7 separate regions of the Homo sapiens genome follow, and regions 1, 2, 3, 4, 5 and 6 are each linked to region 7. The links are contacts of gene promoters, found by promoter capture Hi-C in blood cells and fetal thymus (Javierre and others, 2016). All regions are on one chromosome and are shown on one strand. Each heading gives the region's core, a stretch centred on a gene start or on the middle of the fragment in contact. The rest is flanking DNA. Distances are from core to core; before and after follow the strand shown. Region 1 has its middle 12 kb from the start of UQCRFS1. Region 2 overlaps URI1 (URI1 prefoldin like chaperone). Region 3 has its middle 88 kb from the start of URI1. Region 4 overlaps URI1 (URI1 prefoldin like chaperone). Region 5 overlaps URI1 (URI1 prefoldin like chaperone). Region 6 has its middle 7.2 kb from the start of UQCRFS1-DT. Region 7 holds the start of POP4 (POP4 ribonuclease P/MRP subunit).

Region 1 (3,876 bases), core at 617-3,116, 410 kb after region 7:
TTATGAAATAGATTATTATAGATCGGAAATCTCTGGTCTGTGGCACAAGATTAAAGTTAACTTTGTGGAGGGCTTCAGCAATATCTCTGTAATAACTCTTCCATAATGATCAACCTAAGACTGGTCTATCAGTGAAGTGAAAATCCTAAATTCAATAAACTACACTTTATATTTTTGCAGCTATTATCCCAAACTTGGATCAATTTGAGTGCAAAAACTTAACCGTCATCTGGCTTTTGAAATCCTTATTTTATTAGAATATTTGCAAAGGTAAGAAATCAAAGTATCTAAGTAATAGGTTTTCATACATTTTTAAAAGGGCAAACAAAACCTTGGTTTCTTAATGGAAGGGAGAGGAGAGCTAATGCATTTCACAAAATAGGCCTGTCTAGATTGAGTATCTGAAATCTGCCATTTCCTGCATTGGGGCATGGCTAAAATTTTAACTCGTGCCTCTTGCTTTATCTGAGGGAATACTTGCTTTCTTAGCTCTCTCCTCAAGACACACTCTGCTGTGGTCCCTTTCAGCCCTTTGGAGAGACAAGGCATTCCTGGGGCCCCAGTTGATCTCAGTACATGAAAATCAGGTTAGAGGCAGTGTTCCTCTTAGTAACGGATTATCTATTATACCATTTTAAATATAAATTTCAAATGAAATAGTGGGTAGAAAAGGTATATCAACTGTAAAACAAGATACAAATGCTCAAAGCATTATTTAACGAGGCAGTAAATGGCATTTAGAATGTGATTAGGTATACAGAAAGGCCACTTAGGTGGAGGTAGACCCTACTCAGAATGCGATTCTGAATCAAAGGTTGGTATTAATCCTGCATTCTCATAATACTTTGGCCCCTGGAAGTTCAGATTTGCATGTGTACATAGTTTTGATGTTAATGGAAAGCAAAGCTGAATTCATCCATGACAGTGGTTCACATTGTAGTGTCCCCCTCCTGTTAGCTTTGAAGAATTACTACTAATTGGCTGTAAAAGCTGGTTCTTTGAAATGATCAAGAAAATATATAAGGCTTTTTGTAAAGCTTGATAACGAGAAAAATGAGGCAAAGCAAAAATATATAAAATGAAGAGCCAGCCATCCTCACTTGATGGAAGAAATTAAAATAATAAAAACATGCAACTCCATAGTAACAAAGTTGTAAAAACCAGGGGATACAGATGACTTCTTAGCGAAAATATAAAATGCCAAAATTAGCCCAAGAAGTAGAAAACTTAAACATACCAATTAGCATAGATTAAGTATAAAAAGTTACCATGACTGAATGACTTCATAGCTGAGTTCTATATGACACATTAAAGAAAAGATAATTCCAATTTAAACTACCAGCTCGTTCAGGTCAGAGCTTTTCCAATTTTACTGTGCGTGCAATTTACCTGGAGATCTTGTTAATGATGCATATTCCGATTCTGTAGGTCTGGAATAGGGCCTGAGATTCTGTGTTCTAACACTTTCCCAGGTGATGTCCATGGCAGGCTAAGAAGTTCAAGGGTGAAGGGGCTGCATTTGGTGAGGGCCTTCTTGCTGCTGGGGACTCTCAGCAGAGTCCCAAGGTGGTACAGGGCATCACCTGGTCACCTGATGAGGGGGCTGAGCATGCTAGCCCTGGCGTCTATCCTCTTATAAAACCACTTAATCTACTTCTGTGATAACCCATTAATTCATTACTTTGTGAATGGACCTAATCACCTCTTTAAGGCCCCAGCTGTCAATACTGCCACACTGGGGATTAACTTTCAACATAAATTTTGGAGGCGACAAATATTCAATCCATAGCATTCTATAGAATGCTCCAACAATTCATTTTGTGAGTTTAATGTAAATTTAATATTAAAACCTGACATTAAATATCAAAAAAATCAGTATCATTTACTGAATTAATGAAATTTTCTAAATAAAATACTAGTAAAAGAAGTCTAATAATGCTGCAAAAGAATAATAAACTTTGAGATTTATTCTAGGAATGCAAGGTGGTATCAACACTGTCTATTAAATGAACAAAGAAGGAAAAATAAAGACAACAATAGATGTGGAAAAGCTATCCCTAATATAAATAGGAAATAATTAAAATAGAGGAGTATATTTTATTTATTTATTTATTTATTTATTTATTTATTTATTTATTTATTTAGAGGCAGTCTTACTCTGTCGCCCAGGCTGGAGTGCAGTGGCATGATCTCGGCTCACCACAATCTCTGTCTCCCAGGTTCAAGCGATTCTCCTGCCTTAGCCTCCCTAGTAGTTCGGATTACAGGCACCCACCACCACGCCTGGCTAATTTTTTGTATTCTTTGTAGAGATGGGGTTTCACCATGTTGGTCAGGCTGGTCTTGAACTCCTGACCTCAGGTGAGGAGGGCAGATCACTTGAGGTCAGAGGTTCGAGACCAGCCTGGGCAACATGGTGAAACCCTGTCTCTACTAAAAATACAAAAATTAGCTGGGCTTGGTGGTGGGTGGCTGTAATCTCAGCTACACAGGAGGCTAAGGCAGGAGAATTGCTTGAACCCAGGAGACAGAGGTTGCAATGGGCCAAGATCATGCCACTGCACTCCAGCCTGGGCAACAGAGCGAGACTCTGTCTCAAAAAAAAAAAAAATTTTCCAGGTACTCTGCCTGTGGGGTACCCTGCCCTGTCTATGGAGCAGACATTTTTCTGTATTCTGTTGTTCTAATAAGCTTGCTTTGCTTTCACTTAAAAAAAAAAGTCTTTTCCTCAAATTAACATACATTTATTAATAATAAACTTCCAATTAGACTCTATACAGCATTTTGTTTTGATCCAATTTGTTTAGGATAAAATGATCATAAAGCTTATATAAAATAAATATCCAAAAATATCCAAGGAAAGTATGAAACAGAAGAATAAAGATTTGAGAAACTACAGTGTAATTATTGTAGTTAATATGACATTGGCATGAGGACAGATGGGTCAGTGGACAAAATAGACTATCAAGAATGAGATTTCAAGCTACAAGAATTTAATACAAGAAAGACAGGATTCAATTCAGTGGGAGAAGATTGGTTTATTTAATAAACAGTGCTGGCAACGCCTACTATTCATTTGGAAGAAAACAGAGATGGACCCCAGCTCCTATCATGCTTAAAAATAAACTCTAGTGGGATTAAAGATGCATGTAAAAAAAATTTTTAAGGAAAAATTTTAGGAACTGTACATGTAGTTTAAATGGGGAGAGGACCTTCTTAATCATGAAAGGACACTTAAAACCTATAGCAGAGGCCAGGCATGGTGGCTCACACCTGTAATCCCAGCACTTTGGGAGGCTGAGGCCAGTGGATCACCTGAAGTCAGGAGTTCAAGACCAGTCTGGCCAACATGGTGAAACCTCATCTCTACTAAAAATAAAATAAAAAAAAAATTAGCTGGGCGTGGCAGAGGATGCCTGTAATCCCAGCTACTCGGGAGGCTGAGGCAGAGAATTGCTTGAACCCAGGAGGTGGAGGTTGTAGTGAGCCGAGATGGCGCCACTGCCCTCCAGCCTGGGTGACAGAGTGAGACTCCATCTCAAAAAAACCAAACAAACAAAAAACAAAACAAACAGAACCTATAGCAGAAAAGATAGGCCTATTTGTATTTTTTAAAATCTTGAATTTCAAAAGATACTAGTCAAATCAGATGAAAATAGATTTGTAAAATAAAAATTCTAAGCCCAATGAAGAGTTGGTATCTATAACATACATAGAGAGATCTTATAAATTGACAAGAAAAGGACAAAACTGTAGGAAAAAATGTAGGTGAAATACCCTCATTAGAAAAAAGTGAATCTGAGTGCCTAATAGATGAGTAGGTATGAGATCTTGTCATTGTCAAAGTCAACACAATGGCAATGAGGTGTCACTTTA
Region 2 (3,550 bases), core at 182-2,681, 410 kb before region 7:
ATAAGGTTATATATATGCATGTATCTTATTGTATATACAAATGTGTACACTGGTTTGATCCAGGCATGGGTTCCCCAATCTTCCTAAATACTTTTTAAATTGAAAACTTCAAATACGCACCAAAACACAAGAATGAAGAAATCAATAGCCTTATATTTCACAGACATCCTTATTTGGGGATTTCCTAACCTCCCCTGCACCACCACCAAAAACTGTAAGAAGTGTGGTGGGTGAAAGTGTATTGAGTGTGCACTATTTTTTCTATGGACAGGGTCTACAGCTTTCATCAGATTATAAAACAATTCCATAATCCCCCAAGAGTTAAGTTTCACTGGTACAAGGTAAAATATTAGACTTTAGGTAATTATCTGCTATGCATGCATTATTTTTCTTTAACTTAGCCAAGGTATTTAAAAGAGAATAATGTAATCTGCTCCTTACACTATCAGAAAATGACCTACTGGTAATTTATTTAAAATAAACTGCGAAATAATTTCCTAGCTACAAATGTAATACATAATGCCAAGTAAGACATTTTAAATTTCCCATTTTGCTGAAATAGAACGTTAAGACAAGTAATGTGTTTATCAAAAAATAAACTATTTGATTATCACAATATTTGTACTGTTTGTGACTATTAATTTTTTATTAATTAGTACCAAGAAAGTATAAAACCTAGAATTAATTTAATCTTATGACTTTTCAGATTAAATAGCTAAAACTGGTCAAAGATACTATATGAAATAAAGAATTAAAAGATACACACACACACCTCAGGTGTTACTGATAAGGGCAAAAGTTTCTTTTGATTTTCTTGTGGTTCCTCTTCCAAAATGCTCTCACTGGTGTCACTGCAAGTGGCTTCTTCGCAGCTGATACTCCTCAAAACTCCCCGCCTATCATCAAATTCAGCAGCACTGCTTTCACTAGTGTCGCTACACACACTATTCTCTCTACTTCGAGACTTCAGGATGGATTTGCGAGGGACATATTCTCCATTCACAACATCAACAAAGGCTCTGTGATATTCAAAACACATATGCATTCACTATACGTAACTCATAAAACTGAGAACAACTTTTTGAAAATTTCCTTGAATCTATTCTAGAAATTAATCTGAAAATTTTTATTACAATCTTATATCTAAAATAGTCACAATCACAATAATTTTATAGCCTCAAATGGTATCTTCATACTATTTTGAAAGCTATTTCTCTGGCCTAATAATAAAACACAGCATGTTATTTATTTATTTTATTATACTTTAAGTTCTAGGGTACATGTGCACAACGTGCAGGTTTGTTACATATGTATACATGTGCCATGTTGGTGTGCTGCACCCATTAACTCATCATTTACATTAGGTGTATCTCCTAATGCTATCCTTCCCCCCTCCCCCCACCCCATGACAGACCCCGGTGTGTGGTGTTCCCCACCCTGTGTCCAAGTGTTCTCATTGTTCAATTCCCACCTATGAGTGAGAACAAAAACACAGCATGTTATTTTTAAGCATGTCCTAGGTGGCAATAGCATGGTTTGCCAAAATTCTACATAAAGTTTTAGACCCACGTATACATTTAGCAATTTTCACTGATTTATAAATAAGGGTCATAAAAACAGTAGGTATTTTCAAGTGATAGTTTTCTCAACAAACAATTCCAAAAAAAAGGAAAAAAAAAAAAAACCTGCAACAGTATAATTTCTACTCTGAAAAGGTAAACTGCATGCCAAGCATGTTACGGCTGTGGTAGAAACGTAGGGACCTAGCCCACTGGAAACAAAAATGCTTTCTGAAGATACAAGATTTTCTGACTAGACCATTTGGAAATGTTTCAAAAGCACTGGTGAAGAGGAGAAAGTGAAAAAAAAAAAAAATCCTCCATTCCCACTGCTCTGGACTGGGAAGCTACAGCCGGTCAGCCTATCAGATCCTAAGTTAACTCCTCAGAACACTTCACTTTTCAGTGAGGGTCTTCTGTGTTACAGTCAACTTTCTCCAGTAAAGGTTCAGTGGCAGAAAGAGAGGCAAGCCCAGCAGACTGCCCTGCAGCTGTGAGCGCCTCCCACCTGTAAATGTCTGCAGGCGTCCTGATGGTCGGCAGCTCCTGGGCAGAGTGGCCACTGCCAGTGCTGTTCTTTCGTTTACGTTTGGCTTCTTCTTTCTTTTCACTGAATTTTAAAGTGGTATTCTTTCCAGTATTTATTCGGACCTAAAATTTCAGAGCAAGAAATTAAGAATCTTTTGACAAATTAAATCAAAGTGAAACCAAAACAAATAAACTCTATAACTAAAAAAATAATAGTAAGAGAGGCAGCTGAAATTTTCTGATGCTGAAATGATGTGCATTATCAGATGGAATTTTTTAAAAAGTCCTTATCTCATAGATCTATGACATCTAAAGAAAATCTTCTTTATTAACAAATCCTAGTCTTCAGTGTCTTTATTATTGTAGAGAAAGCAAAATACATTTGAACTAAATGCTAGATTTCTTATAAACTTCCCATCACCCCATTCCTTTGATATAAGTGTTTGGCTTGAATTATGTATTTCAAAAGAAAGAGTATAAACAAAAATTCAGTAAGAATACAACCTTTAAGTCATAAAAGTACTATTAAATAATGCCTATTTAGAATTTTTAAAACATCTCTAATTTTTAGAAATTGAAGGAGTAAAAAAATAAAAACCAAGCCTGTTCAGGGTTCACATGGGGTTAACATGTTATTTTTCTATCCCTAGTCAGCACTTAGAGCATACTTTCCACAATAATGACCACTATTACCTGTAACGTTCCTGCAAATAATATTTGTTCTTTCTGTTTTATCTAAATGAAAACAGGAAAAAAGTAAAAGCCTGGCAAAAGATTAAAAAGCGACCTTTTTTTCTGGCTAATCATCTCAGTCAACTTTTCCCGAAGAATCAGGGGAAGACCCCTTCAGTCTGACATATTAGAATATAAAAACACAAACAATTATTTCACTTCATATAGGAGCAGGAATAACTTTAGGAAGCTAAGAAATATCAAATATGTTTTAAACATATTTCACTAAATAATAATCACACACACTTAAGAATGATACCACAGACCCTTAACTGATACAGGCAATCGGGATATTGTGTAGAAAGGGCACTCAGAGGCGAAAGAGTTCCTGTTTTGTTACCAACCAGATCTATGTCTTCTAGGCCTTAAATTTCCCTGAGAAAGACGAATTAGACGAATTCCCAGTGTCCCCTTAGAGCAGTACATGGAGCAGAGAGAGGGCAAAGATGGACTTAAGGCAGCCTATCCTTCCTTCAATCAGAGCCAAGCTGCTTTGATCTATTTTAAATACTGGGATTCTACAGTAAGTATGGAGGGAACAAAAGGCTTTTCATACTAGAGAAAAGCTTTAAAACTCTGTATTAGAAAATCTCCAGTCACCCCCAGCTCTAAAATGCCAAAATTCTAAGTCATGATTATCCACAGATGTTTATATTTACTTTGTCAGAAAAGAAACTAATTTTTACTTCCTCCTACATTTTCCCTTTGTGCCTATGAAGTATTCATTTTAT
Region 3 (3,707 bases), core at 493-2,992, 420 kb before region 7:
CTCACCAGAAGACACACAGATGGCAAATAAGCATCTGAAAAGATGATCCATATCATGTTTTATCAGGTAAATGCTAATTAAAATGACAATGAGTTACCACTACACACCTATTAGAATAGCCAAAATCCAGAACAGTGACACCACCAAATATTGGCTAGAATGTGGAGCAACAGGAACTTTCATTCATTGCTGGTGGGAATGCAAAATAGTACAGCTAGATTGGAAGACGGTTTGGCAGTTTCTTACAAAACATAGTCTTACCATATGATCTGTCAATCATACCACTTGGTATTTACCCAAAGAAGCTGAAAACGTATGTCCACACAAAAAGCCACACACTGATGTTTATAGCAGTTTTACTTGTACTTGCCAAAACTTGAAAGCAACCAAGATGTCCTTCAGTAGGTGAATGGATGAACTGCGGTACATCCCGACAATGGAATATTATTTTCAGATCTATCAAACCATGAAAAGACATTATGGAAACTCAAAGGAGAACGAAGCCAATCTTAAAAAGCTAAACATTATGTGATTCCGACTACATGACATCCCAGAGAAAGCAAAACTATGGAGACAATTTTAAAAATCAGTGATTACCAGGTATTGGGGCATAGGGACGGATGAATAGGCACAGCACAGAGGATTTTTAGGGCAGTGAGACTACTCAGCAACTATAATGGTGGATATGTGTTCTTATATATTTATCCAAAGCAACTGAATGTCCACCAAGAGTGAATTCTAATACAAACTATCAACTTCGGGTGATGATGTGGCAATGGATATTCAACTACTGTGGCAATGGATATTCAACTATTGTAACAAATGTATCACTCTGGTGGGGATGTTGATGATAGGGGAGGCTATGCAGGTGTGGGAGCATGGGATATATGGAAAATCTCTGTACCTTCTGCTCAGTACTGCTGTGAATCTAAAATTGCTCTTAAAAAACAGACTTTTAAAAAAATTAGACAAAATTATCAAAAACAACTACTTTTCACCTCTGAGTATTGACCAAAACATAGGACAAATGGAGAAGTGTTTATTCAAGAAAACTACTGAAAGTTGGGTAAAAATGATGACAGTATGTGGCATTGTGACCACTCTCCCTCACCCCAGCTCCTTCAGACAATAGTTCTAACAGGGTGGGACAGCTTGTAAAACCAGAAGCATTTATACTGTAGGGAGCTGACTCAATCTGAAACAACGTGGAAAAACCCAACGCCCAGGGGCTTTGTTAAATATAGCAATTTCAGTGCCAAACATAGGAGAGGTCCACATACATCATAGATGACCTGAAGCTGAAATACTATAGCTGGGCCAAAAAAGAGATCAGAAGAAAAAAATTTTCTGCCTGGAGATTTAACAGAAACAATCAGGAAGTGAGACAATCATAGTCCTTGATAAGCTTACATTTTGAAAGGTAATGGGCATATTAGGGTATGAACATGCTGAGAGACCAGAGAAGGCTCTAACTATATACATACCCCCAGGGAAGACTCGTAAACTGCATAAATTTTCAGTGTGTTCCTCAAACAAAACAGAGACTTTGACAAAGGATGAAAGTCTTACCAAAACAAGATGCCTAAGTACAATCTCTGACCAGTCACCAGCTGATCACTAAGATATATTGATCCAAGGTGACCCATAAGTAGTCAAACATAACTGAGGAGAGACATCAGAGGCCACACGCTGTAGAGAAAAACTCATTATTAATCTTGGCCAAGTCATAAAACAAACAAAAAAAGGGACAATAACCCCTGGCAGGAGAGTATCAGAAATAAATGCTGTTACAATGTATTATTTAAAATGTCCAGTTTTAAACAGGAAAGTATGGCTTATCTAGTATAAAAAAAAAAATACTCAGTATAAACAGAAGCTATTTCCAAGGGTTCCCAAATGTTGGACTTAACAGACAGACTTCAAAGCAGCCAATAAAAATACATCTTCAAAGAACAAAAGAAAACCGTGTTTAATCAAAGCATGAAAACAATGACTAATCAGAGAACACTTAATAAAGAGATCAACATTTTTTAAAAAATGGAAATTCTGGAGTTGAAAAGTAACTAAAGTGAAAGCTTCATTAGAGGGACAACAGCAAACTTGAATGCAGAAGGAAGAATCAGTGAACTCAAAGATAAATCAATACAAATTACACAATCTGAAGAACAGAAGTGAGAATGAAAAATGAACCAAGTAGGAAATCTGTGGGTTACAATCAATACCAACATATGCATAATGGGAATCCCAGAAGAAAAGAATAGTGAGGGCCATACAAGTTTTGACATCTTTTGAAGAGTCATAGAAGTTTTTAATGTCTGAAAACATTCCAAATTTAGTAAGAAGTATAAATCTGTATATCCAAGTATCTCAATAAAATCCAAGTAGAATAAACATTAAAATATCCACACCGATACACATCAAAATCTTGAAAGCAGCAAGAGAAAAATGGACTTATCATGCACAGGGGAACCCCAGTAAAATTAGCAGCTGACTTCTCAAAAGAAACAATGAAGGCCAGAATTAAGTGGTATAACATACTCTACTGTCAAACAAGAATTCTAAATCCAGTAAAACTATCCTTCAAAAAAGAGGACAAAAATAAAGATCTTCCCAGATAGACAAAGAGAATTTGTTGCCACCAAAATTTTTTTTACAAGATATGCTAAAGCAAGTACTTCAGGCTGAAAGGAAACACCACCAGATGGTAACTTGAATCCACATAAAAAATTAAAGTACCAGTAAAAGTAATTATGTAGGCAAATGTAAAAAATAGAAAAAATACTCTTTTTAAGTTTTCTTCTCTTACTTAAAAGATAATTGCATGGAAAAATAATGAACCCATATAGTTATAAATAATAAACCTGTACTGTTATAAAATATATTACAATAATAGGACAAAGGAAAAAGAGACTAGAGCTATGCTGAAGCAAAGTCTGCCAGAATTAAGTTAGTATTATTCTGACGCAGGTTATAATGTTACAATGCATCCTATAAACTCTAGAGCAACCACTATAAAATAACTCATAAAAAAGAGTAAAGCTCTCTTCTACTATGTGAGGACACAGGAGGCCATCTGCAGCCCAGGAAGAGAGCCCTCGGCAGGAACCAAATCAGCTGCTAACCTTGACTTCCCAGTTTCCACAAATGTAAGAAATAAATTTGTGGGTTTAAAAAAAAAAAAAGTACAGTTTCTTTTTGTAAAGGAATTCAAAGTTTATACTAAAAGATTTATTTAACATACACAAAAAAAGGTAACCAAGGAGGAACAGAGGAACAAAAAAGACATGACATATAAAAAATGACTAACAAAATGGCATGAGCTATTGATATGTAAATGAGCCATATCAACAATTACATGAATTAACACACATTTCAATAAAAAGACAGGCTGGCAAAATAGACTTTTTAAAAACAAAATTCAACCACATGCTGCCCACAAGATACAAATGCTAAAAAGGATGAAAAAAGAGATACCACATAAGCATAACCATAACCAAGGTGGAGTGGTCATAATCATATCAGACAAAACTGACATAGGCTTTAAAATTAAAATGTTACTAGAGAAAAAAGGGACATTTTGTAATAATAAAAGCTTCAATTAATCAGAAGATATGACAATGACAAACATATATGTACCTAACAACAGAGAAAAAAATGCATGAAACAAAAACTAACAGAACTTGAAAGGTAGGACTATTTAACAATAA
Region 4 (3,685 bases), core at 321-2,820, 360 kb before region 7:
GAGATTCAAAAATAAAACATGGAAAATACAGAAAAGACCAATAAGAGACATGTGAAACACAGTGTAAGTGCAAGATCCAGAAAGGGAAGAGAGAATGCAGCAGAAGCAATATTGAAAAGATCTTGAATTCTGGATTTTCTAAAACTGATATCAAAGTATCAGCCGATAGACTGAAGAAACTCCAAGAATCCCAAGCAAGAGAAGCACAAAGAAAATTTCAAGGCACAACATAGTTAACAGTGATGAAAACCAAAGAAAAAGGGAAAACTTTATGTGCAGCTGGGGGTAGGCGGAGGAGGCACAGGGGAGATTCACAGCCTTCAAAGGAGTGACAAGACTTAGAGCTAGAGCTAACTTCAACATCAATGACAGAAAGTGAAAGATAACAGAGTATCTTGAAATGCTGGAAAAAATAACTGAAAATCTATAGTGACATACACAGCAAATAGATCCTCCAACATGAAGGAAAAAATAACATTTTCAACAGAAACAGAATTCTGCACCAGCAGACTTTCATTAAAAGAAATACGGTTTATTAAACTAGACATGTTGTTAATAAAATGTCTTATCAAAAAAATTATTAAACTAGATATTGTTATTAAATAAGTGTGATCGGTTAAAAAAAAGACAGCAACAACAACAAAAAGGACTCTTCAGAGTAATATAAATGCAGAAAGAATTGAAGAGTAAAGGTACAGGATAAAAAAAAAAAAAGATGGGTAAAGATAAATCAATATTGACCACACAGAACAATTAAATACAGTGTTGTGGTGTTTAAAATACGTAGAATTAAAATGCATGGGAGCAATCATGCAAGAGGTGGGCTGGATAAATGAATGAATGCTATGATCTCTAGAGACACCAGAGACTTACTTAGTGAAAAGGAATTGTAAAAAAAAAAAAAAAAAAAGATACTATAAATACATATTATATTTAGTACTAAACCATAAGTACAGTATAAAAGTAGTAAAAAATAATGTATCACAAACAAGTTAATAGGAGGAAATAACAATACAAAATGTTTGATCCAAAGGAAGGAAAAAAAAAAAGCAGAGAAAAAAGAACATAAAAGTACATCAATTAGAACTATAATGGGGAACCATTTGACACTCCAGTAATGAGGATGGTCCTTACAGAAAACAAAAACAGCCAATGCAAATGCCAAAAGTTGCCCAGTATGTGGACTGGAACCCTTGTGAATTTGTCCGGGAATGTAAAATGGTACAGTCACCGGAGAAAGCAGTGTGGCAGTTCCTTAAAAATTAAACACAGAATTACCATATGATCCAGAAATTCCACCTCTGAGCATACCCAGAAGAATCGAAAGCAGCCGGGCGCAGTGGCACACGCCTGTAATCCCAGCACTTTGGGAGGCCGAGGTGGGTGGATCACCCGAGGTCAGGAGTTCGAGACCAGCCTGACCAACATGGTGAAACCCCAACTCTACTAAACACAAAAAATTAGCCAGGGGTGGTGGTGCATGCCTGTAATCTCAGCTACTTGGGAGGCTGAGGCAGGAGAATCACTTGAACCCAGGAGATAGAGGTTGCAGTGAGCCGAGATTGTGCCATTGCACTCCAGCCTGGGCAACAAGAGTGAAACTCCATCTCAAAACAAACAACAAAAAAAAAAAAAAACAAAAAAAAAAGAATCAAAAGCAGATACTTAAACCAAACACCCATGTTCACAGCAGCATTACTCAAAATCACCATAAGGTAGAGGCAACCCAAGTATCCATGGATGCTAAAATAAACAAAAACGTATAATACACTGCATAATACATTCTATAATACAATGGAATATTATTCAGCCTTAAAAAGGAAGAAATTCTGATATGTGCCACAACGTGGACGAACCTTGAGACATTATGGTAAGTGAAATAACCCAATCACAAAAGGACAAATACTCTATGATTCCACTTAAAGGTACTTAGAGTAATCAAATTCATAGAGACAAAAAGTATAATAGAATGCTGGCAGCCAGATCAGGAAGGGGAAGAATAGAGAGTTATTGTTTAATGAACAGAGTTTCAGTTTTGCAAGATTTAAAAAAAAAAAAAAAAAAAGGCCTGGAGATGGATGGTAATTACGGTTGATCAACAACGTGAATATACCCAATGCCACTGAACTGTATACTTAAAAATGATTAAAATGGGCTGGTCATGGTAGCTCATGCCTATTTCCCAGCACTTTGAGAGGCCAAGGCAGGACGACCGCTTGAGGCCAGGAGTTCGAGACCACCCTGGGCAACATAGTGAGTCCCTGTCTATACAAAAAAAAAAATTTTTTTTTTTAATTAGCTAGGCCCAATGGCATGCACCTGTAGTCCCAGCTACTCAGGAGACTCAGGCAGGATCACTTGAGCTCAGGAGTTCAAGGTTGCAGTGAGCTATGACCATACCACTGCACTCCAGCCTGGGTGACAAAGCAAGACACAGTCTCTTAAAATAAAATTATTAAAATGGTAAATTTTGTTATATTTACTACAATTTTTTGAATAAAAAATAAATACAATGTACGTCTAATAGAAAGGTGATAAAATTAAATATATCAGGAATCCTACTACATATAATGGCTTAAAATACTCTAAATAAAAGGAAAAGATATCTAGACTGAATATTAAAACCACAACAATATGCTGTTTATAAGACACACTTCGAACCCAAAAGACTGAAGTTAAGAAGATTTTTTTTAAAGATAGACAAAACAAACAAATTTAGCTGGTGTGACCATACTAATACTAATATCCAACAAAGGAGACTTGAAGGCAAGTAGCATTACTAGAGATAAAAATATCTCAGAATGGTGAAAAGGTCAACTGACCAGGAAGTTTTTACAATTTTAAATTTGTATACAATGAATAACATAGCTGTAAAATATATAAAGCAAAGGTTAAAAAAAGAGAGAAAAATAAATCTATAATCCTAGTGACTATTTTAATACATATCTCAATAAATGATAGAATTAGCAGACAAAAAAATTAACAAGGACATAAAATACTGGAACAACATATTCAAGCAGCCTGAACTAACAGACACATACTGAACCCAAAAACTGCAGGATTAACATTTTTTTCCAAGTAAATTATGAAAAATTTACCAAGAAAAAGAAAACATTAGGTCAAAAGGCAAGACTTAAATTTCAATTATGCAGAATGTGTACTCTGACCACACTAGAGAAACAGAAAAATAAGTAGAAAATAATGTTTGAAAAGGAATGTATTTCCAATTTATGGGTCAATGAGCAAATCACAATAGAAATTAGAAACTATTTTTAAATGACTGATAAGGAAAATGACATACAAAATGTGTGCAGTACCTAAGGCAATGATTAAGAGAAAAATTTAAAGCTCAAAATGCATATCTTATAATAAGGAAAGGTTAATATTAGTAACCTCAACCATCATCTCTAAGGGCTAGAAAAATTACAGGCAAAGGAAAATCTTAAACAGGAAAAAAGAGAGAAGAAATCAGTAAAGTAGAAAGCAGACTTAGAAAAGAGGAAAAAAATCAAAGGCAAAAATATAAAATATAAAATTGATAAACCCTTAAGAAGAGAAATCAAGGGAGGAAAAAACCCACAAATTAAAAATTACAGTAATTAAAAAGAGGACATCACCACCAAATCTACTGATAATAAAAAGATAACAGGATATTATGATAACTCGGAGGGACAACAAGCTTGAA
Region 5 (3,469 bases), core at 359-2,858, 370 kb before region 7:
CTGCAGGGATCATCACTCACACATAGCATGCCTTTCTGATTGTTTGTTGATTGTTTTGCAATGCATCTTTGTCAAAGATCCACTAGCTTGAAGGATGCCTGGCTTTTCACCTCTAAAATCAAGAAAATAGAGGAATATTAAGTTTGGGCATGGATTCTATATAGATAAAGAGATGTCCTCCAGTTACTAAAGCAAGAAATAATGATTTTTTTCAAAGTATCCTTTTAAACAATCTAAACAAATTGATAAAAGTTACATTTTATTTAAAAATTCTTGAAAAAGGGATCTATACTGTTATGCTTTATGCAATTTGGTGGGAAAAGGAACACTCCTCATGGAAAATTTAAATGTACTTGAATTAAATCAATAGCATTACACTTTTTTTCTAAATGGTCATGGCAAAATATTCAGTAATTTCAATTGATATAAGTAACTGAAATGTACCACAAAATTCAGGCAGAATGGTGGTATATTCCTTTTTTATAACTCTATTATACCAAGGAATTTATGTCATCAGAAGATGCTGATGAAATAATCTATGTTCTTTATATTTTATGAGTCCATCAGAAAACTTTACTATTAGACATAGATACCAAGATTAACCCGCATATAAAAACATAATTTTTCAAGTCAATGAAACAAAATTATCTAAAGAGAGATGCAGCTAACATTCTACTAGATTTCTTCAATTTAACTTTTCAACAATGAGAAAACAGTGCAATGGATATATATATATAGTAAGCCTGGACAGAAAAATCTGTTCTACTGTTCTCTCTACAACAACCATACACATGTGTTTGAAGACTTGTCAGTTATCACAGGTGCCTGTTTCTTCACTCATTACTAATCTTTTGCTCTAAGAAAATGAGATGTGAATTCAAAGCAAAAAACCTTTAAAATTATGTAAAAACACATTCATCTACGTTTGAAAGAAATATCCTAAAGTGCCTAGTTAATTTTTACTGATGAGTTTATATGTAATTTTTGTTCTTTTTATTTTCCAAATTTTCTATAACTAATATAAATTCCTATTACAAATCAAAGGAAAGGACCTTTTAGAAAAGGTGTGATGAGTTTATAGCTGACTTAAGCTTTGAAAGTTTGTGCAAATTTCTACTTAAATCTTACCGTAATTCATAGGTTTTGCTACTTTACACTTTCTATATTTTCTTTCTAAAGCATATTTTAGAAAAAAGTAATTTTGTGGGTTTTCTTAATTACAGTAGCAATTAAAAAACCCTTTTAGGTCACTGATCCCTATGAGAAACTAGAAAAACTCTAGGCTCTTCCCTGAGAAAAGAACTCATATTTTACATATAGTTTCAGCAGAGGCCCAATCATAGATACCTCCGGGTTAAAGTTTCTCAAGAGGTTTTACAACAGTGAAAAATGGCAATCCTGGTTTTGAACCTACCAAATATTTAAAAACCTCAAAATTATCAACTGACTTAAAAATAAAAGAAAAATGTGAAAACCCTCACCAATTTGATCATGAGTTCAATATGAATTAGTAAAAAGTAAATTATAGGCATGCCTCCATTTTTCACAGCCTACATTTCTCTCAGGTCTTACACTGATACCCACCCCAATCTGTCTTTGGTATAGTGGAATCTGGACTTATATTTCTCAAAATAAGAACAAGCACTCAGGATTATCACCAAGTGATGCACTTCTCAGACAAGCACTGTGGTTGTTGCAATATTCACATCTTCATCCTCAAACAGGACTCTGTGCTTAAGAGTTTTATTGGATGTTACTCTTCATAAAAAAAAATGGAAAATGAAAAAAAAGTACAAAGAAGTACAGTTTTCAAACCTAATACAGTTGAGACAAAGATAAAAAATCATGAGGTGTGCCCAAAGCAGTAAGCCCTAAGCCCTTTGCCTCAGTCAGATACTGGACTTGAGCTGGTCATGGGAAACTGAACCAAACCATATTGACACTGGAAACACGTCGTCATCAAGGACTATTCTAGGTGATGAAATGTGATTAGGGATTTTTTTTAATAATAGTTTAAAACTCTTCAGGGGAAAAAAACTCTCCTATAACATGTAAGTTTTCCTTTCATTTTCAGAAGTGCGTTAAACTAGCTGGTTGCTTCCAAAAACATGATATAAAAGCTTGAGGACTCCTACAAGTAATAAATTCTAATTACAAGTTAAAAATCATTTAACTCTTTAAAAAGAGAAGGAAAAGAAAAATGCATTTACAGTTTGACCTTAGTCACATAAATACACATACAGAATTAAGAAGCTAGAGGGAATAAAAGGGAATGTTTTAAAAACAGGGAGAGAATTAGCTTCTCTTTACAATTATGAGTAAATTTATCTTTATTCCTTTCTTATTTCAACTTTTCCATAACTAAGCATGCATTCATTTTATATTCAGAATAAACATTTAAAAACCTAACTCAGATTTAAAAAAAATTCTTTAAACATTCAACTTGAATCTTTTTTTTTGCCTCTTAATTTGCTTTGAAACATTACACACGAGTTCCAAACTCACTTAATCACTAGCGCATGTACTAACTCACACCATTTTTTAAAACTGTGCAGAAACTTAATGACAAGATTTGACATATATGATTCTTCCCCCTTATCCCTAAGACTTTCATAAACAACTACAGAAACTCCAACAACAAAAACATGCAAAATTTCCAGAAAGTTTGGCAGTTGCTCTCTGCTCAAGAGGAGGGAAAAAAAAAAAAAAAAAGAAAAAATAACATAAAGAAAAAGCCCAAACAGAAGGCCCTCTACAAAACAGTGACTGAAAACTTTGTAGTCAGTAAAATACAGACTCTGAAAAACACAGTTTACAAATCTACCTAACACTGTAGAAAAAAGTCATTGGCTTTTACAAGTTTTAAAGGTATGCAGATCAATATTTCACATATTATACATAATAAAATAAATTTTATATAGCATGTGAAGGCAACTCAAGAAAACAGTTTCAGGTATTCATATGAAATATACTGTAAACCATGGCATTGTTACAATGATATAGTTCAGTGCTTCTGTGCACAAGGAATGCCTCAAAAACATGAGACATATAGACAGATATACAATGTGTGCATAAAGCAGGTATCTCCATCCCGACTGATAGGAAAGAGTAGCTCCAACAGGAAAAAAAAAAAAGAGAGAGAGAAAATCAAATCTTCACCTGAGATTTTTAGCTATACAGGTATGCTTTCTTGGTTATTTCCTACTATATACTTTAACTATAAATTCTAATGGAAGCTAGTTACTCTTTTCCTCTGAACAATTATTTTTGTCCAGTTTCCTTTGAAAAATAAAAAAATGTTGAGTATTTGCTTTAGACTCTCTCAAAACTCACATGCCAAAGTGTTTTAGAACTTTTATGTCTAAATTTAAAGTATTCTTTCCAAAATTAAACACCTGAACAAAGTATCTTCTTCTATATTTAAGTCTGTTTCATGTAATTTCAAAGATACCTTTACCAAAAATCCTTT
Region 6 (3,446 bases), core at 188-2,687, 390 kb after region 7:
TACCTAGAGCTCCTGTCTCTTGCAGGGCAAGCCAGGGGAATGATTGCCTCTCTCAGCAGGAGCCGAGAGAGGAGAGAAGCTTCCCTCCACGGATGCACCTGCCCAGCACTCGGGTCCTAGGATGTTGCTCCACCTGGATCAGCGGCACCATCCCCAGTGCCTGCCTTCTCCTCTAATGCCTCCAGGTGATCTCTTGTGTTCCTCACCCTTCCCATCCCTCCTGACCCTGGGCACCTCCACGATCCCTTCTGCCCAGGCTTTTGGTTCCTTCTCCCCTCAGGGTCTCACTGACTGCACTCCATTCTCTCTCTGGAGCACAAGAAGCCTTATATGCATTTGCTGACCCCTTCAGCCAGCACAAATTTGCCATCTCTCTCTGCGTGCCTAAAGTTCCATTACAGGTGGAATAGAAGAAGCCCGGTCACTCTTACACAGCTGAGGATGCAGCAATACTTCTTCGTGGAGTGCAAGACTCTATCCCTGCCTTAAGGAGTTTATTTGGTGGAGACAAGGCAGAGGAGAAGGTAGGGTGGTTTATTCCAGCCTAAGAGAGGGCATCCACAGCACATCCCATAGCCGTCCAGAGGAAGGGGACTGGAAATAGGACAGTAGCTGTAAAATACTCATCCACACAAACTGAGCACCGCCAGAGGCCATGCCAACATAACCGAGTTCAAGCCGGTACCATGCACTGCACAACAGCCAGTACGTCAAGAAACAAGGAATTGGGTCAAGGGAGGGGGCTTTGTTTTGGAGAGCCAGCAACCGAGAAGGTGGTGGGCCAGTGTCCTAAAGAACCATCTGAAGTTACTATGAATTTCAGCCTCCTTTTATGTGGGAGGAGAGAGGGGGTTGAGGTTAGGATGTGACCGATGACAGCGGACATCTGAGCAGCAGCAAGGGTCTGAGGGGGCTGGAGACGTGTTTGTCCTTGGTCAGGTCCCAGTGCTCGTGTACATCTTTAACACACAGTGTTGCTCATGGGACGCCCTCCTTATCTCCTTGGGGGTGAGTGTTCAGAAGGAACTGTGGTCTCCTTGCTTTAAACTAGAAATGAAAGGCCTCTCACAGTTAGCTTGGTTTATGTGCAGAGATCAGCAAGAGCAGTTAACCCAGAAGATGTCACCAGAGGAGGTGGGTTAGGAGCAAAACACTTGTCACATGAGGGCTTCTTTTCACTGCTCCACCAAGGGCACATTCTTGCCTTCCCCTTTATACACACTCCTGTTACCCCCATCTTGCCAGGAGGCTGGACGTGTCCCCAGGTCTGCCCAAGTCCACCAGGGCTTCCTGGAGGACATGGAGTTCATGCTGGACCTTGACCCGGAGAAGAATGAGGCAGAGGATAGAGGGGGCTCCAGGTTAGGCCCAGCACAGGGCCAGGTGGGAAGGAGAGTAGCTTTGGCCTCTGCACAGAACCACCAGGTCCATGGTCCAGTCTTGTCTCTTCTGCCAACCCCATCCCTTCCAGCTCTGGCATTCATGGAACAAATCATCAGTTATTTGGATTCAAATCTGACAAATTAAATTGCAAAGAATTAAATAAGTTGTAGATCAATACTGTCTAAATGATCAATTAATCATTCCCTGTAATTAAAACTACCAATTCCTAATACCTTTCAGTTAAATTTTATTGCACCATTTCTAATTCAGAGCTTTTCGGCAGTTATATTGATTGCAGGTATACTTACCTGGTAATCAAATAATTTATTAATCAGCATACTTCATTATGGAATATCTGCACATTGACTCAGAAGGCTGGTTTAGTTCAGCCTGAGTTTTATTTTTATTTTATTTTATTTTTTTGAGACAGAGTTTGGCTCTTGTTGCCCAGGCTGAAGTGCAATGGCATGATCTTGGCTCACTGTTACCTCCACCTCCTGGGTTCAAGTGATTCTCCTGCCTCAGCCTCCCAAGTAGCTGGGATTACAGGCACCCGCCACCATGTCTGGCTAATTTTTTTTGTTTTTAGTAGAGACAAGGTTTCACCATGTTGCTCAGGCTAGTCTCGAGCTCCCTCAGGTGATCCACCAGCCTTGGCCTCCCAAAGTTCTGGGATTACAGGCATGTAATATCCTGCCCAGCCCAATTTGAGTTTTATTTTAAAGATGCTGGAGGTTTGCCATTACCTGCTTGTATACGTCACACAAAGTTCCTTCTTTTGTGAAAAATAATTGCAAAAAAAATAGGTGTGTGTACTTAAAAGCAGGTAAATGGATAAACTCAAGTGGTTCCTCAAAATTATGTTTTAACCGTAATCTTTTTCATGGAGGTTTTGCAACTTAATTTATTCCCAATATGCTTAGAAAAGTGCTCTCAAGATTCAGGGATGAAAAGGCCTTTGGGAAAATGGGTGCTACCTTCATTAGTACCTTGAAATACAAATTAAATCCCAAGCACATCACAATTTGCTTTCCTGCATCTACCAATTTTGAAATAGTACAAATAAAATGTCTTACTTACCTCGTGAATTTATTATTTCAGCTGTTCATGCTGGACACCTGGTGGTTTGATTTAACTTCCCTTAATGTTTTGGGGCATCATTAGGAGAGGGAAATGAGGACCTGTAATTGTGTGTGCAGACCCTGCAGGGGCCCTGGGTGGGCTGGAGCCTCCTTTCTGCTCCCCTTGCTCACATTCAAGGTCCCCAGGGCTGTCTGGGTTTGTCTTGGAGATTCAGGGAGCCAGCTCCTCCCCAGAGAGAAGAGGGCTCTGGTGGGCTTCCCTCTGCAAAGACAGAACGTGGGCATCAGTCTCTGGATCTCAGCTTCTCCTGATTGATGGGCAAAGCTTCCACAGAGGTGTTGAGCTGGGTTGCAGCTGAGTGGATCCAGCACTTCAGGCTTGAGAACAAGATGACTGAAGGTAGGGAGCCATAGGACCACTGAGAAGGCCAGAGGTGGAGGTGGGAGAGGGGCAGAAACTGACATTACCACCTTCTCTGTCCTCTACAAACTGCCCAAGGACTTTCAGAGCCATACTCCTTCAACTTATGCCCCACACCCCGAAATCTTCCTTCCCTCCAAAAAATGTTCATTTCTCCATCAACACAGTTCATCCTAGACCCGTCTGTCTCAGAGTACTCCTCACTCTGCAGGGAGAGCTGGGGGAAGTCCCTAACAGCACGCAGAAAGGATGGCAATTTGGAACACGGAGTGGATCACATGCCGAGGGCTTCCATGCAGTCACATGCTTACACACCTTCTACCTGCATCCTCACAGAGTCCTCCGGGAGTTCCAGCCAGCAGCTGAGCAGCCGGACGGCACCATCCTTGCTCCACTTCCCTGCTTGCTGGCTCTCATTGTCCTTATTCTTGGAGAAAGAAAGTCCAAATTCTTAGCACAGTGTGCAAAGCATGAGCCCTCCAGGTCAGGGCCTGAATTAGGTGATCTCTGAGTTCCCTCTGAGCCATAGCACCCTGTCCCACCAGCCCAGGACTCCCTGC
Region 7 (3,617 bases), core at 804-3,303:
AAGATCGTGCCATTGCACTCCAGCCTGGGTGACAGAGTGAGACTCTGTCTCAAAAAAAAAAAAAAAAAAAAAAGAAAAGAAAAGAAAAGAAAATAACTACACTTCTACACTTATAGCAGAACAACTGCTTATTCAGAGATAGGAGAAGATGAGGTTGGTATTAAGAGCAAAGCTTTCTTGGATGCCTCTTATCCCACCCTCTGGCCACATCTATGCTAGAAGTTCCAAGCACATGGTTTAAAAAGAATGCTTCTCAAAATTTAACGTGTGTAAAAATCTCTGGGATCTTATTAAAATGCAGATTATTGGTCTCCTACCCTAGATCCTGAGTGTTTAACATATTCCCAGATACTACTGCAGGTCAGTGAATCACATTTTGAGTTGCATTGGTTTAAAATACCCCAAGTTAGAAGCTTGAGCACTTGCTAACAAGGTAACTCATTAAAAGTTATATGATATAGCTGTCTAGGATGTAGATGGTTAGAAATAGGTTTTGTTAACTGTAAGATGTTTAAAAAGATTCTTCACATTTTAATATGAAATTATAATGTGTCACATAATCGATGGTGTCCTGAACTGATAAAATACAAGTTTTTCCTTTAAACTCAAAATATACATTGGTCAATAAAGTTTCAACCTCTAAAATAAATTCCACACTTCTGTTTCTTAATTTTTTGAAAGAAGAAAACCATGGCACTGGGGACAGAGTACAGGTGTGAATGGAATAAGAATGGGACTACTAAGGCCTGGTTTATGAGCTAAATAGCTAGAAAATGTAATTTACACTATACTCTGTAAATTTAATTCCAGCTTTCTTGTACTTCCCTGAGAATGTTTGATGCAAGGTGGTTACAAGTTTTTTTTTTTTGTTGTTTGTTTGTTTGTTTTGATACTGGGTTTTGCTCTGTTGCCCTGGCTGGAGTGCAGTGGCACAATCATAGCTCACTGCAACTTCGACCTCCTGGTTTCAAGTGATCCTCCCACCTCAGTCTCCTGAGTAGCTGAGACTACAGGTGTGTGCCACCACACCTGGCTAATTCTTTTTTTTTTTTTCCAGTTTTTGTAGAGACAGGGTCTCGCTATGTTGTTGCCCAAGTTGGTCTTCAACTCTTGGCCTCAAGTGATCCCCCTGCCTCAGCCTCCCAAAGTGCTGGGACCACAGGCGTGTCCCACCACACCCAGCCAGGTATGTTTGTTTGATCAAGCAAACCAATGTGGTTGCAAGTTTTATATATAGCATCTAGTTCTCCCTCAAATGGAAGATGGGGATTATAAACTGTAGAGAGCAACTTGCGGGGCCTGATAACTTTGCTTCATCTGTTACAGGTGCTTAGTAACAGACTTGGAAGTCTTTCTGCAACAATACACATCTAACAATTACTGAACATCCATTACTTGCCAGAAACCTCATTACAAGGTACACATATTTTTTCTCATTACACTTATGTGCATGAGCAAACTGAAGCTCAGACATGCCGAGACAATCTACTTGATCATATAGGTAGAAAGTGGCAGAGATGAAAAATAAAAATTCTGATTGAAGGCCCAGTCTTAACGGTGTCTACACGCCCCTCCTTGGCACATGTCTTCTACCCCTAAGGACCAAAGCTTTGGGTTAGTGATATCATTCCCCAGCAGCTCTCGGCGCTTTGCATCAGGTTAAGAGTGTGAAACCAGCTCGCAGAAAGGAGCAGGATCTTGACCGCGGTCACCCCGGGAGATAGTGGCCAAGTTGAGCCAAGGCCTGGAACCCTCCTCTAGCATCGCACACCACTGAGCAGCCTCCGGGAGAACCTGCCTCCAGCCCTGACATCCCTCCCTAGCTCAGAGGTCGAGCCAGGCTAACCCGTGCTCCAGCCCTCAGTTTTTCTTAGGTAGGGTGGGCCCATTCCTGTAGCGGTTCTGTTAGGACTCCGCAGCAACAGGTAGCCCGGACCCATTTCACCCACCAGTACCAAGACCCCGACCCTTAACGTCCCCAACCCTCTCCAACTTCGCGGCCCCGCTTACTCTTCATTCTCGGACCGCTTCCGGCGCTCTCTGATGACGCACTGGCAGCTGCTGTCGCAGACTCTCGGAGCTCGGAGATGGCGCTATGCGTGACATCACCGGCGCTCGCCCACCTCGGGGGCGCATGCGCCTGGAAAGGGATTCGGCTACTGAGAACGTCGTAGGCGGTGTTGCTGAGCAGTGGGGAGGAGTGGGCTCGCTTCCTGGGGTCTTTTCCGCCTGCATCTTTTGGGGGACAGGCAGTAGGGTTGGGGTAAAGGCATGTGGAATGCTTGCTAAGGCCTGGAGTGGAGCGAGGCGAGGCGACTTGGAGAGGACTCGAAGGAGGTTGGGGATCTGGGAGGGCGGAAATGGGACGGGGACGGTGGGGTGAGGTCTTTGTCGTCCCTAATCAGCGCCCTTACGGATGAGCCGAGGCAGCTTCCGCTGTGAGCACGGGCACCGAAGCTGGGACAGCAGGCTTAGGTTCTAGTTCCGTGTCTGCTGCTAACTAGCTGTTTAACCTCGCTTAGGGCACTTCCCATCTGTAAGCCTCACTTGCAGTCTGTGCTGTGAGTGGGGTCGGCCTCACAGGTAGTGATGCGCCGCCTGGGTCCCTTTGATAGTTTCAGAAAGCTTTCTTGAGACTCAGAATATTTATTAGTTTTTATCAATAAAAAAATCATAGCAATAAGATCAAAGGTGGCTCACACCGTGGGAGGCGCAGGCGGGAGGATCTCTTGAGCCCAGGAGTTCGAGACCAGCCTGGGCAACATCGGGAGACCCCATCTCTACAAAACATTTAAAAAAAATTATCCAGGCGTGGTGGTGCGTGCTTGTAGTCCCAACTACTCGGGTATCTGAGGTGGGAGGATCAGTTGAGCCCAAGGAGTTTAGGGCTGCAGTGAACCTGGATTGCGCTACTGCACTCCAGCCTGGGTGACAGAGTGAGACCCTGTCTCCAAAATAAATAAATAAATTCCATATAAATAAATAAATGAATAAACAAACTCCATTGCTCAGTGGAAAGGTGCAGGAAGGCCTGGTGCAGACTTCTCAGCAGTGACCCAGTGTTGGGCAGAACTGTGGAGCCCCAATTTCTGCTGAGCACTGGGCCTGTGCTGGGTGGGAGAGAAAAGAAATACGGTCCCTTTATGCTAAGTCAGTGGTTCTCAACTTTGAGTACAGTATACATTTCTTTACAGGGGATTCTGGGAGTATGTCCAAAGGTTTTAGTTTGAGAAACATTGGCTTAAACAATTTCTTTGGTGGTGACCTTGTACCATTTTGATTTTAAACATTAGACTGCAGGCACTGAAATTGGTTCATCCCAGTGACCCCGCGTGCATTGACTTTATAAAATTTATGTATTAGTTTTTGCATATGTAGTACACTTATGCATTTATTTTATACGTATAAAATTTGGAAAGACCACATTTAAACCAAAACATGCTGCCTTTGCAGATGCCTGAAAATTGTAATTTATGGGACTGATAGAGAACTTTTATTATTTTTAAAATTAACCAATAAGAATTGTATGTATTTATGGTATACAATATGGTTTGAAATGTGTATACATTGTGTAATGGCTAAATGAGCTATGAGCGATGCTAATACACTCATTTTGT

Evidence for each region. Contacts are between HindIII fragments. The CHiCAGO score rates a contact against its expected background, and 5 or more counts as called.
Region 1: a contact is called between a fragment that was not itself captured here and the fragment with the promoter of POP4 in region 7, in 1 of 17 cell types (total CD4 T cells). The highest score is 5.6, in total CD4 T cells.
Region 2: a contact is called between a fragment that was not itself captured here and the fragment with the promoter of POP4 in region 7, in 7 of 17 cell types (naive CD4 T cells, naive CD8 T cells, non-activated CD4 T cells and 4 more). The highest score is 10.1, in naive CD4 T cells.
Region 3: a contact is called between a fragment that was not itself captured here and the fragment with the promoter of POP4 in region 7, in 6 of 17 cell types (naive CD4 T cells, naive CD8 T cells, total B cells and 3 more). The highest score is 8.8, in naive CD4 T cells.
Region 4: a fragment that was not itself captured here is called in contact with the fragment with the promoter of POP4 in region 7 in 7 of 17 cell types (naive CD8 T cells, naive CD4 T cells, activated CD4 T cells and 4 more); the score reaches 9.3 in naive CD8 T cells.
Region 5: a fragment that was not itself captured here is called in contact with the fragment with the promoter of POP4 in region 7 in 6 of 17 cell types (naive CD4 T cells, non-activated CD4 T cells, total B cells and 3 more); the score reaches 8.9 in naive CD4 T cells.
Region 6: a fragment that was not itself captured here is called in contact with the fragment with the promoter of POP4 in region 7 in 1 of 17 cell types (total B cells); the score reaches 5.4 in total B cells.

The regions. Positions count from the first base shown.
Region 1 is chr19:29,199,113-29,202,988 of GRCh38, reverse strand. No RefSeq gene overlaps it. Among named protein-coding and RNA genes, the nearest start is that of UQCRFS1, 12 kb to the left of the region's middle. The HindIII fragment of the contact is 1,654 bases long and covers 1,040-2,693 here.
Region 2 is chr19:30,009,754-30,013,303 of GRCh38, reverse strand. It overlaps URI1 (URI1 prefoldin like chaperone), which reads right to left. Exons shown (of 11, transcript NM_003796.3): 9 at 2,068-2,210; 10 at 773-1,019. Among named protein-coding and RNA genes, the nearest start is that of URI1, 69 kb to the right of the region's middle. The HindIII fragment of the contact is 3,913 bases long and covers 1-3,387 here.
Region 3 is chr19:30,027,894-30,031,600 of GRCh38, reverse strand. No RefSeq gene overlaps it. Among named protein-coding and RNA genes, the nearest start is that of URI1, 88 kb to the right of the region's middle. RefSeq lists enhancers at 684-1,183, 1,249-1,298. The HindIII fragment of the contact is 670 bases long and covers 1,408-2,077 here.
Region 4 is chr19:29,959,628-29,963,312 of GRCh38, reverse strand. All of the region lies in intron 1 of URI1 (URI1 prefoldin like chaperone), which reads right to left. Among named protein-coding and RNA genes, the nearest start is that of URI1, 19 kb to the right of the region's middle. The HindIII fragment of the contact is 4,223 bases long and covers 1-3,681 here.
Region 5 is chr19:29,976,802-29,980,270 of GRCh38, reverse strand. All of the region lies in intron 2 of URI1 (URI1 prefoldin like chaperone), which reads right to left. Among named protein-coding and RNA genes, the nearest start is that of URI1, 36 kb to the right of the region's middle. The HindIII fragment of the contact is 1,029 bases long and covers 1,094-2,122 here.
Region 6 is chr19:29,218,734-29,222,179 of GRCh38, reverse strand. No RefSeq gene overlaps it. Among named protein-coding and RNA genes, the nearest start is that of UQCRFS1-DT, 7.2 kb to the right of the region's middle. The HindIII fragment of the contact is 2,711 bases long and covers 82-2,792 here.
Region 7 is chr19:29,604,719-29,608,335 of GRCh38, reverse strand. POP4 (POP4 ribonuclease P/MRP subunit) reads right to left here and starts at 2,053. Exons shown (of 7, transcript NM_006627.3): 1 at 2,011-2,053. The coding sequence starts at 2,017. RefSeq lists an enhancer at 1,911-2,400. The HindIII fragment of the contact is 1,017 bases long and covers 1,611-2,627 here.